Regions from separate parts of the Homo sapiens genome. Here regions 2 and 3 are each linked to region 1. The links are contacts of gene promoters, found by promoter capture Hi-C in human tissues and cell types (Jung and others, 2019). All regions are on one chromosome and are shown on one strand. Each heading gives the region's core, a stretch centred on a gene start or on the middle of the fragment in contact. The rest is flanking DNA. Distances are from core to core; before and after follow the strand shown. Region 1 holds the start of CLVS2 (clavesin 2). Region 2 overlaps TRDN (triadin). Region 3 overlaps TRDN (triadin).

Region 1 (3,336 bases), core at 473-2,972:
GGCATAAACAATGGGTGGCATTACAGCAGAATAGCTCTGAGTTTAGGGAATTCAAATAAGCTTGCCTACCTTTTGGTCAGGAGAGAGATATCACAGCTTTCAAGGCTTTGTTTCAGATGGAGGTACTATCTCTATCTTCCAATATCTTCCAAGACTATTTACTGTACAAATACCCTTGAGAAGACAGTCTAGAAAAAAGGGCAATTAGTGCCTTGGTCATAAGACAGGTAGAAACACAACGGATCCAGGGAGAATTGTCTCTCCATGTTGGTGATGACTAAAACTTCTTCATACAGTTGATACGAAACATAAATTTTCTTCAACCTCTAAAATATTAGAAAAAATGATTTTTTCAAATGTTTTAAAATGAGAACCAAAAATTTAACAGTTCACATTGCATTCAGCATGCTTGAGAAAGTCATAATCACTTAAAATCCTAGAAGGACCTTATATATAGTGCATATATATAACACACATATACACACACTTAAGTGGTTTATTTTCTGCCTTCCCCATTTAAAACATAAATTCCTTGACAATAATGACTGTGTGTGTGTGTGTGTGTGTGTGTGTAATTTATTGTCTTATTCGGGTTCCTACATTAATTTGCATTAATTTAATTAATAAATGCTCTAGCTCTACCATACAACCCTTTTCCTTCTTTCTTTTTATCAACACCATCGCCATGAGAAGAGCAAAAACAAGTGTGCCTGTATTTTGAGGGTTCTCATAGTCATCAACATTGAAAATGACAAGATAAGAAATGTCAAGATAAGAAAATGACAAAATTTGCTTATCTTCAAGACCACCTCCTATACACAGAATGCAGAAAAATGCCCCACACCTCGTGGAACTCAGTAAATATTAGTTGCATTGAATTAACTTCAATTCAAGACCCCATTCTACAGTTTATAAAGTCAAAAGTTGCTCTTAGTAACACGCTCAGTAATATGTGCTGTGTTTTGAAAATAGAAAATATCCCTTTTCCTCAAATCCATAGATAGTCATATTAAGCGCAAGGACTTCTGTTTATTTATAATGATTCTCATATACAGATGCATACAACTGAAGGAAGGATGGTATGTGTTTCCAGAAATATTTGCTTTATGATGAGATATGAGTGAAGTTCCTATTTTTTTCTTCCTTTGAGAATTATGTTTTTATTATCATTTACCCTAGTGCTCATTTTCATCCTCTTCAACAGAAATTTAGCAGGGAGACTGGTTGAAAAACTATTCATATAAGTTCCTCCGGAGGCTTAATCATCAGTACATTGTCTTGGAACCACTCTGGTGTTTTCTAAATTAAATATCTCTGTCTACAACAAATGCGAAAAGTACAGAATGTTTCCGTACTCCTTCTACATCAAAATTGCCTCCTACAGGAACGAGAAAATGCGTGTCAATGTGAATTACCGTCTACAACAGCTACTCTCCAGGCTGATCTGGGGTCTTGCACACAAAGGGCGAAGAGAGGGGCGTGGGGAGGCTGGAAAGCATGGTTGCCCCGCCTGGCCCGGCGACGCCCGCTCAGCAGCCTGCTGAGGAGTGGGGACGAAGAGCAGCCTAAACTTAGGGCTCGGGATATTTCGATGCCACCCAAATTGCCGTCCTACCCCAACGAGGCAGGGAAAGGAGCGGAGCGCGCGCGCGAGCTGAGTGAGTGCTTACGTCGCAGCGAGATCTGTGCTGGGATAATTAGAGAGGAGTTGGGCTGAGCCGAGTCCTCTTTCAGCAGCAGCAGCCGGAGCCGCCGCCGCAGCCCGGTGGGGCAACCCTGACTCGGACCGCTCGGGAGAGCCCCAGGAGAGGCCAGCGCCGCGCAGCAGCCGCCCCGCTGCGCCCACCTCCCCGGCTGCTCCCGGAGGGCTCACAAAGGCGGTGGCCGCCCGAGTGGCCTTCTCCATCCAGGCGTTCGCGTCCTCCTCCCCACCTTCTCTCCCGAAGGCGAAAATGGCAGGGCCAGGCGAGAACCTGGGACAGCGGTGGCCCTAGCCCTGCGATCCTCACCCCTCCTGCTAGGAGAGGCTGCGGGCTGCCCGCGGACGATGTGGCCGCGGCTGCTCCCGAGCGCATCTTCGGCCCGGGTCCCCGCCGCCACCCCTCTTCTCTGCTCCTTCCATCCCGCCCAGAGGAGTTGATGCCGCTGTCGCCGCCGCCGCCGCTGCTGAAGCCGCGGCTGATGGATGCCAGGGAGTGCCGCATTGCTTAGCGACCCCGCCTCTGGGTTTGCTGGTAGGAGCGGCTGCTCTTTCTTCTTTCTTGCTTTGGGGTTTTATAGAAAAGATAAGGACATTTTTATTTTATTCTTCACAACGTCCTCCCCTTCTCTTCGTTTTTGAAATGTGCATTCCCAGAGATATCCCCGGTCCCCTCCCTCCCCCTCCCCCCTTTTCTCCAACCCCGCGGCAAGTCCGTGGAAATGAAGGGCTAGAGGAAGGCAGAAGTTGGGGGTGGGGTTGGGGGAGCCCACGCTGGTACCAACGCCACCAGAACCCCTGCTGGTGCCTTATGAGATCACGGTGTATCTCAGAGGGGTGGTGGGAAGGTGCGCTATCTGCAGAGTCTTCACCTAATTGGATCACAATAATCTTAAATAAATCACACAAATTTGTCTTTTAAAAATAGCGTCTTTGAATAAGTACAGGGAGAAATAATCTCCTTTCTCCCCCCTCTTTCTCTCTGTCTCTTTTTCTTTCTGGCAAAGATGATCTCTCTCCGCCCTGGAGCTCAGCGCTGAAGAGCTACCTTATTATTAATCAGAATTTCCATCGCCACCCCTGGCAGGCGTATCCTTCAGCAGGGACCGCAGGAACATTCACAGTGCAGGGGCTGAGATGTGCGTGGGGGTTGTTTTTGTTACATCTTGGAAGAGAAGAGAAGAGGACAGTACCAAGATCAGAAACACCCGTGCTAGGTGGAATTAGGGGTGATTTGTTAGGAAAGAGAAAGGACAAGAAGAGGAGTGCGGAGCCCTTCAGGGGTTCACATCTCTTTAAAGGAAAGGAAAGAGGGAGCCAAAGTAGGGTGTTGTATTTTAGGGGGCAGAGGAAGAAGTTTACACCCCCCGGCCCCCCCAGCTTTGCTGGGGGAAAGCAGGAGCAACAGGGCACTTGATTGGACACCAAGATTATTAATTTCCTGTAGGGGAGAGGAAGCAGGCAGCAGGAGGTCTGGGGGCTGGAGTCTGGTGGTGGCAAGGACCAGGTTTGCTTTGGGACAGTCAACAAGGTCTTCTGAGGGAAAGCTCAGAGATAGGCAGAACAATGACTCATTTGCAAGCCGGTCTCTCCCCTGAGACCCTGGAGAAAGCTCGCCTGGAGCTCAATGAAAACCC
Region 2 (3,336 bases), core at 506-3,005, 400 kb after region 1:
TTTGTCAAACCTAGACTAAATGGTCTCAATTAGTAATTATATATAACTGACATTTAGTAGACAAGTATTAAATAATTGTTGACTAAAACAAATGGAAGAAAAGAAGAAAATAATATGCCCAAAAATTTCAACAAATGAGCACCATTCTGCTCAGATGTTTTACTTCTTGGAGATCTCAAAATATTAGAAAATTATACTGCAATTTGTAATTAAATTTTAAAGAAAAAGATTTTAAAATATCAGTATGTAAAGTACCTTAGAATTTGTAGAAATATTTGCAAAAATTTGCAGCCAATTTTCCTCTTATCTTCTCCTTTTTCTTTATATCCTCTTAAATCACTGATCCTAAACAACCTCATCACACCTAAGATTCTATTAGAGCACGGAGGTCACACACACCTGCAAATTATGTAGTGCTTTTCCTAGGGCCTTATCACTTCTCCCACAGACTGTTTGGTTTCTCTGTCAGCTGCTTTCTCCCTCAGCGGTCAGGTTCAGAAACATGCCCCTGAGTGCTGAGTTTTCCCATTTGAGTGTCCCAACAGGCTGGTCATCTCTCAATGGGGTTTACCTCTTTAATAACCTTAGCCTGTCCTGGGTTGGGCTGTGTGCACATAGATTGGGCATGTTTTAGGGTTCCTTATCTATGGGCTCTTCTTTCTACTAAGACTTAGTTCCCTCCCTAAGCCTTCCCTGCCCCTCATTGTCCCGCGTCCAACACATGCCAAAGAAAACAGTCCACAAATGCACACTGATGCATTGAAGATACTGTTTCCAGGTAAAAGTGTATTTTAAAGAGGTCATTCTACAATGTCTACCTGCAAAAGAAAGATTTCAATGGAGGAAAATCTCGGGATCATAGCAGTATCATGTTTGTCCCTCATAACTCCATCTATTCCTTCTCTGATTTTAAGCTTTAAAGTTCATTTATGAGGTTGGTGCAAATGCAATTGCAGTTGCACGAACCTCAATTGCGTTTTCACCCGTCTAAAATATTAGTTCACAAACTACTACATGATCTACATCTCAATAGAAATTAACAGTTTAAAACCAAATGCCTTTTCAGTAAGTCTGCCAGCTTGCATCCAACCAACAAAAATATCATCCTTGAAACTATTGAGGACACATGCAAAGAAGATCAGATTTGACATCTGCTCTTGCACAGCATTTCCATTTTCAAAATTGCATGACATTAGGGGAGGAATCGACCCTGAGTCCATACATGTACAACACAAGAAGGCTGCACCAAATATTGTACTACTGAAAACACATTAATCCAGACAGACAAATTTTCATTATAAATAATTTTTCTGTCTCCTTTTGATTTCTGCCAACTACAAAAGAAACTACATTTTTGTTAGGGAAAATTCTAAACCTATACAAAAATAAAAAAGACAGGATAATGAGCCCACCGTTTCCAACACCTACTACAGTATTTCATCTGTACTGCCTCCACTACACATATTCTAATGAAAATTTCATCATATCAAATGATTTTATCTTGTCATAGTTTTGTTTATAGCTGTGTTTTTGGAAATAAAGTACAATGACTTAAATAAAAAACAGATGACCATAACAATATTCAACTAAAGATTATAGTAATTCTGAAATTGATAAATAGTATTTTGGACTTTTAAATCAGAGACAGGATGGACCTAGATTAAAATGTCAGCATAATTCACTTGGGGGTGTTTTTTCAGGAAATTATCAGAGAAGTTAGTATTTGTAGATCCCTGAAACATGCGGTATTTATATAAACAAATTGTCATGAATCAGATGAGCCAAATGTTTCAATGTCTTCTGATTCCACAGATATGGAACAACCTGATTTACAAAACTGAAAAGATATCATTAGTCTGCAAACATTTTGTTAAAGAGCCAATTTTTGCACAGAGATTTAAATATTAGTTTAATACGATTAACTTTTCATTTCTAGGACACTGTTTATATTTTGACTTCATTTAATGTAAAGTGCAAATCCATTACATTTTCAAAAATAGGTTTCACATAACTTTAGTGGCAAATGGACTGCTACACTGTCAGCAGCCAGAATTGGTCTTTGGCTAATGGACAGCAGGTAAAGAATAATAGTATTGCTGAGAAACCTACCCACATCTTACATGTTTTTGAGCATTCTCCCATCTCTGAAAAAAAAAACAGTGTATTTATTATGTTTTAATTTTAGAATAAGTTGGTAGAGATCAATTATTACTTCAAAAGAGACAATAAACAATGTTATTCAAATACCTGAATAACATGTAAGTCTCTTACTTATAGTAACAACAAAATAAATAAGAAAGACTCCCCCCATCTGCAGTGAAGTGGCTGGCCATTAGAGAGAGGAACTGACAGGGGCAGGAGAATGAGTAGCAGCAGATGGTAAAGCAGGTAGTGGGCTCCTACCACACAGACTTTATCCTGGTTATTGACAATACCCAGCCCACTGACCTCCACAGTACAGATTTCCATTTCAATGTGAAATCATATAATTATTTACTCGTACAACTTCCCTTCCTACTACCCTATAAATTCTCTGAGATCACTGATTGATTGTCACTTATTCAACTTTATAACTCCAGACCCAACAAACTGCTGGAAAAATTGTCTCTATGAAACAGTAAGAAATGGCACAGAATATCTAACTATAAAAATGAAAAAAAATCCAATTGACTGCTTTGAAATGGAACATTAAGCTCAGGGATCTATTTCACTTTTAAGATGACGCAAAATCTCTTTTTCTCTTTGATCACTGATTATGTGTTATTCAGAAAGTGTATTAACTCTAAATTTTAGAACTAGATTTTTAGTAGAATATATGGTAACCCACATTGCAATTGGGAATTTTGTAAAATTAACTAATTTAGACAAATTTGCAAATTTTTAATTAATTTGCATGGATTTTGTTAAAAGAATAGGAGGAGAAACAAACAACAAAAAATGAAAATATTGGAATTCTACTTAAGAGCATGTTTGAGATAAACATTTTTTCAGGATTCAAATTATGAATCAAATTTATTTTATTAATCTTCCAAAGAAATGAAAACAGCTTTAAAGCTGTCTCTTGCTACTTCATCAATATTACAAGGAACTTAGACTGTTCTTATTTTCTTTTATTTCTTTTTGAAATGGTGTCTCACTCCGTCGCCCAGGCTGGCGTGCAGTGGCACGATCTTGGCTCACTGCAACCTCCGCCTCCGGAGTTCAGGCAATTCTCCTGCCTCAGCCTCCTGAGTAGCCGGGATTACAGGCGTCCGCCACTGCGCCCAGCTAATTTTTTTCTATTTTCAGTAAAGTCAGGGTTTCACCATGTTGGTCAGGCTGGTCTCGAACTGCTGA
Region 3 (3,336 bases), core at 419-2,918, 330 kb after region 1:
TTATTATTATTATTATTATTATTATTATTATTTTTGAGACGGAGTCTCACTGTCACCCAGGCTGGAGTGCAGTGGCGCAATCTCGGCTCACTGCAACCTCCACCTCCTGGATTCATGCCATTCTCCTGCCTCAGCCTCCCCAGCAGCTGGGACTATAGGTGCCTACCACCACGCCCAGCTAATTTTTGTATTTTTAGTAGAGACGGGGTTTCACCATATTAGCCAGGATGGTGTTGATCTCCTGACCTCGTGATCCACCTGCCTCAGCCTCCCAAAGTGCTGGGATTATAGGCATAAGCCACCGCGCTTGGCCTGTCCCACCTTTTTTCACTGTCTTGTGAGATCTTTGAGGACAGGGAATATGTCTTTTCATCTTTGGAGCCTCACTGCCTAGAATAGCCACAGAACATTATGTGAACACTCAAAAATTGTTACGGATATATAACAAAATTAAAATGCTGTTTCAAAATGACAGGAAAATCAAAATGCTAACTTCATTTTTAGGGTGTTTAAACCAAAATATGAAGCAGAATCCCTGTCTCACTATCCAAAACCCTTACATGTATGGAAAAACACATTAGAACTGACTCACTAGACGTTGAACCCTGGTGTGCATTATCTTCAGATATTTATATTTAATTTGTCTGTCTAGTAAAATTATTCAGAGTGGCTACACGAACTAATTTGTTTATTGTTAGTTATTTCAGGAAGCAAGAGCCTCAAACTACTGACATCACTGCTTTTCCCATAACACATAGACACACACACAAGCACACCTCCACACACACATGTTCTCTGTCTCTGTCTCTGTCCCTCTTACACACCTCTCAAACCCATTAAGTCAACAACAGAAACAAAACAAAAACAATTATGGTTGATAAGTTTCTGTAGGTGTAGTTCTAAAATGGCTCCAGTTTGTAATGCAGGCGCTTAAGTCATGACTCAATGCTTTATGCCTAAGTCCTGATTCTGCAATCCTTCCTTGGCAAAATTCCCAATGGAGTTTGATGCTTACAGAAAAACTTTGCTGAGTGGACATTAAACACATAAAATGGGCCACAGGGCATTCTCTCTTTTCAGCACAGAATAAATGCATACATTGTCCCTGCCTTATTCTGTCATCATTTCATTTTCATGGTCTTTTGTCTTTTGTATATGCTAAATGCAATGTACCACACTTCTGATAGTGTCACTCTGCTTTTATCTGTTCTTTCTTTTATGCCTACTTATATGCTCCTCATTATTCTTTCCTTCCCTGAAGCTTCCCAGTGTGAAGAGTGTGCATTTAAAATAGGTGAGATATAATTGGAGGTGGCTGCATGCATTTGTAGGTCCTGCAGAAATTGTCAGAATCAGGCCCTGTGATGTTATTTGAAGATGGCAGATGGCGAGTTGGAAATATTTCAGCTAATGAGCCTGCTGACTTTAAACCATTCAATGAGTTCAGAAAGTTGTGCAAAGGCCACTTACCAAGGTAAACAAGCAGGCATTCCTTAGTTTTCCTTTACTGAGGGGAAGTCACTAGACTCTTGCTTGTTTTTCTGGGTACCAGTATCGATTTTCTTGAATTTGAAGTAAGAATAATCAATTAAGTAGATAAAATGTCATAGGTTTAAGTATGAATCATCTTATATCTTGTTCAAAAATGTAAAAATAATAGAAGACTTACAGTAGAAATAATATATTTTTTAAAATGTTAATGGACAGAAGCCAGGTGTGTGGTGCATGCTTATAATTCCAGGTACTCAGGAGGCTGAGGCAGGAGGAGCTCTTGAGCCCAGGAGTTTGAGGCCAGCCTGAGCAACAGAGCAAGACCTCATCTCTGAAAAGAAAAAACAAAAAACAAAACGAAACAAAATAAAACAAAAAAACCTTCAAGGAGAGAAGCATATTAGAACATATGCATAAAATAGCTTGGAGTGATAAGACAGGTTGCAGTGAGATTGTGACCCATTCTTTCATTCAATTCTGCCTTTTGAATGAGGGCTGATATTTAAAAAATACCAAGGAATGAATATTGGAGCTCTACACTTAGAGTTGCACGTGTATTTCACCTACATACAGCTGTACACATGTTGCTGTATATTAACATTTTGGATGAAGATTATAAAAATTCTCAGTGCTTGGATACAATACTTTTGTATAGCTAATGCTTGCAGAGAAAATCCTGGCCCCCTCAACTACTTTTGAAAATAATACATGACCTCTTTCCATCCTATCAACTTGACATTTTGGCATAATGGACATAACAAGAAATGTGTTAGGCTGTAAATTGCTGCTTAAAGTGAAAGTGCTACTGTTATGGGTCCAACTTTCACTTTAACAATTCTTCAGAAAATGAGTAATCATGGATTTTAAAGGCATCTTCTAAGATTTTATTCTTTAGAATCCTGATTGGTCTTTTTTATTAATCAACAGATTATCTGTAATCTTCCTTCATGCCTAGCAAACACAATAAAATTATTACAAAGACAAAAATTTTGACTATGTGTTAGGATAAGTTTTGCTAATATATTCCAATATTGAAAAAAAGAAAAATAAGATTATTTTTAGTGGTTATTAAGTCTGATACTAAGTAGCTAATTCAGCATAAAAATCTTGGCTAATCATTTAATCTTTGGGCATCAATTTCTTCACTGTTAACATGACAGTTGTAGTATTTCTCCTTAAAATACTTCAGGGCAGAATTAAATCATGCTAAGAATTTATATTAGAGACTAGGCACCAAGAAACTCAGAAAAAGTACAGAAAAATTAAAATACTAATGTTGATTACTAAACCAAATATTCTAGACCCAGTATTAGACTATGAAAATATTTTACTGAAAGTTCTAATATTTCGTAGAGGAGGACAATGACATGAGTGAAGATGACATATGTGAATTGCAATACTATTGGAACATTTTAAAAATTTAGAGTAGTGAATAAAATATATAGATTAATTGAATCTTCTTAGAGTTATCAGTTTCAAAAGACAAAATAAATCCCTGTTATATCAGTTTAAACAGAATCAGAACACTAAATAACTTTAAAACTGGAACTTTGGGGACAAAACTCCACCTTTTTATGTTAATCACTGGACACTGGAATATTTATGGTCTCTAGATGTAGCAAGACAAAAACACTGGTTAAGTTTACTATGGCATATGTTGAATTAACTTATTCTGAAAGGTGCCTTTTGGGATAAGTCTCTGAGACCAACTGTCTTGATTCTTTCTTATAAAAGCAGACTACACAACACATACTCCTTCAATAAATCATTGAGCTTTCCCCTGCAGGTTTGTATCTGAATTAATCAATATTAAAATAGTGCTTATAGAAACAACATTGTACCTTT

What was found. Contacts are between HindIII fragments. The study calls those that stand out against the background at their distance.
Region 2: a fragment that was not itself captured here is called in contact with the fragment with the promoter of CLVS2 in region 1 in 2 of the 25 tissues and cell types used here (hippocampus and thymus).
Region 3: a fragment that was not itself captured here is called in contact with the fragment with the promoter of CLVS2 in region 1 in 2 of the 25 tissues and cell types used here (H1 embryonic stem cells and dorsolateral prefrontal cortex).

The regions. Positions count from the first base shown.
Region 1 is chr6:122,994,513-122,997,848 of GRCh38, forward strand. CLVS2 (clavesin 2) reads left to right here and starts at 1,723. Exons shown (of 6, transcript NM_001010852.4): 1 at 1,723-2,234; 2 at 2,707-3,336. The coding sequence starts at 3,266. It overlaps LOC124901392 (a long non-coding RNA gene), which reads right to left and starts at 408. Exons shown (of 2, transcript XR_007059733.1): 1 at 70-408. The HindIII fragment of the contact is 5,962 bases long and covers 1-3,336 here.
Region 2 is chr6:123,394,901-123,398,236 of GRCh38, forward strand. The region is part of intron 12 of TRDN (triadin); the gene reads right to left. Among named protein-coding and RNA genes, the nearest start is that of TRDN-AS1, 43 kb to the right of the region's middle. The HindIII fragment of the contact is 5,436 bases long and covers 1-3,336 here.
Region 3 is chr6:123,322,626-123,325,961 of GRCh38, forward strand. The region is part of intron 23 of TRDN (triadin); the gene reads right to left. All of the region lies in intron 1 of LOC124901393 (a long non-coding RNA gene), which reads left to right. Among named protein-coding and RNA genes, the nearest start is that of TRDN-AS1, 120 kb to the right of the region's middle. The HindIII fragment of the contact is 8,405 bases long and covers 1-3,336 here.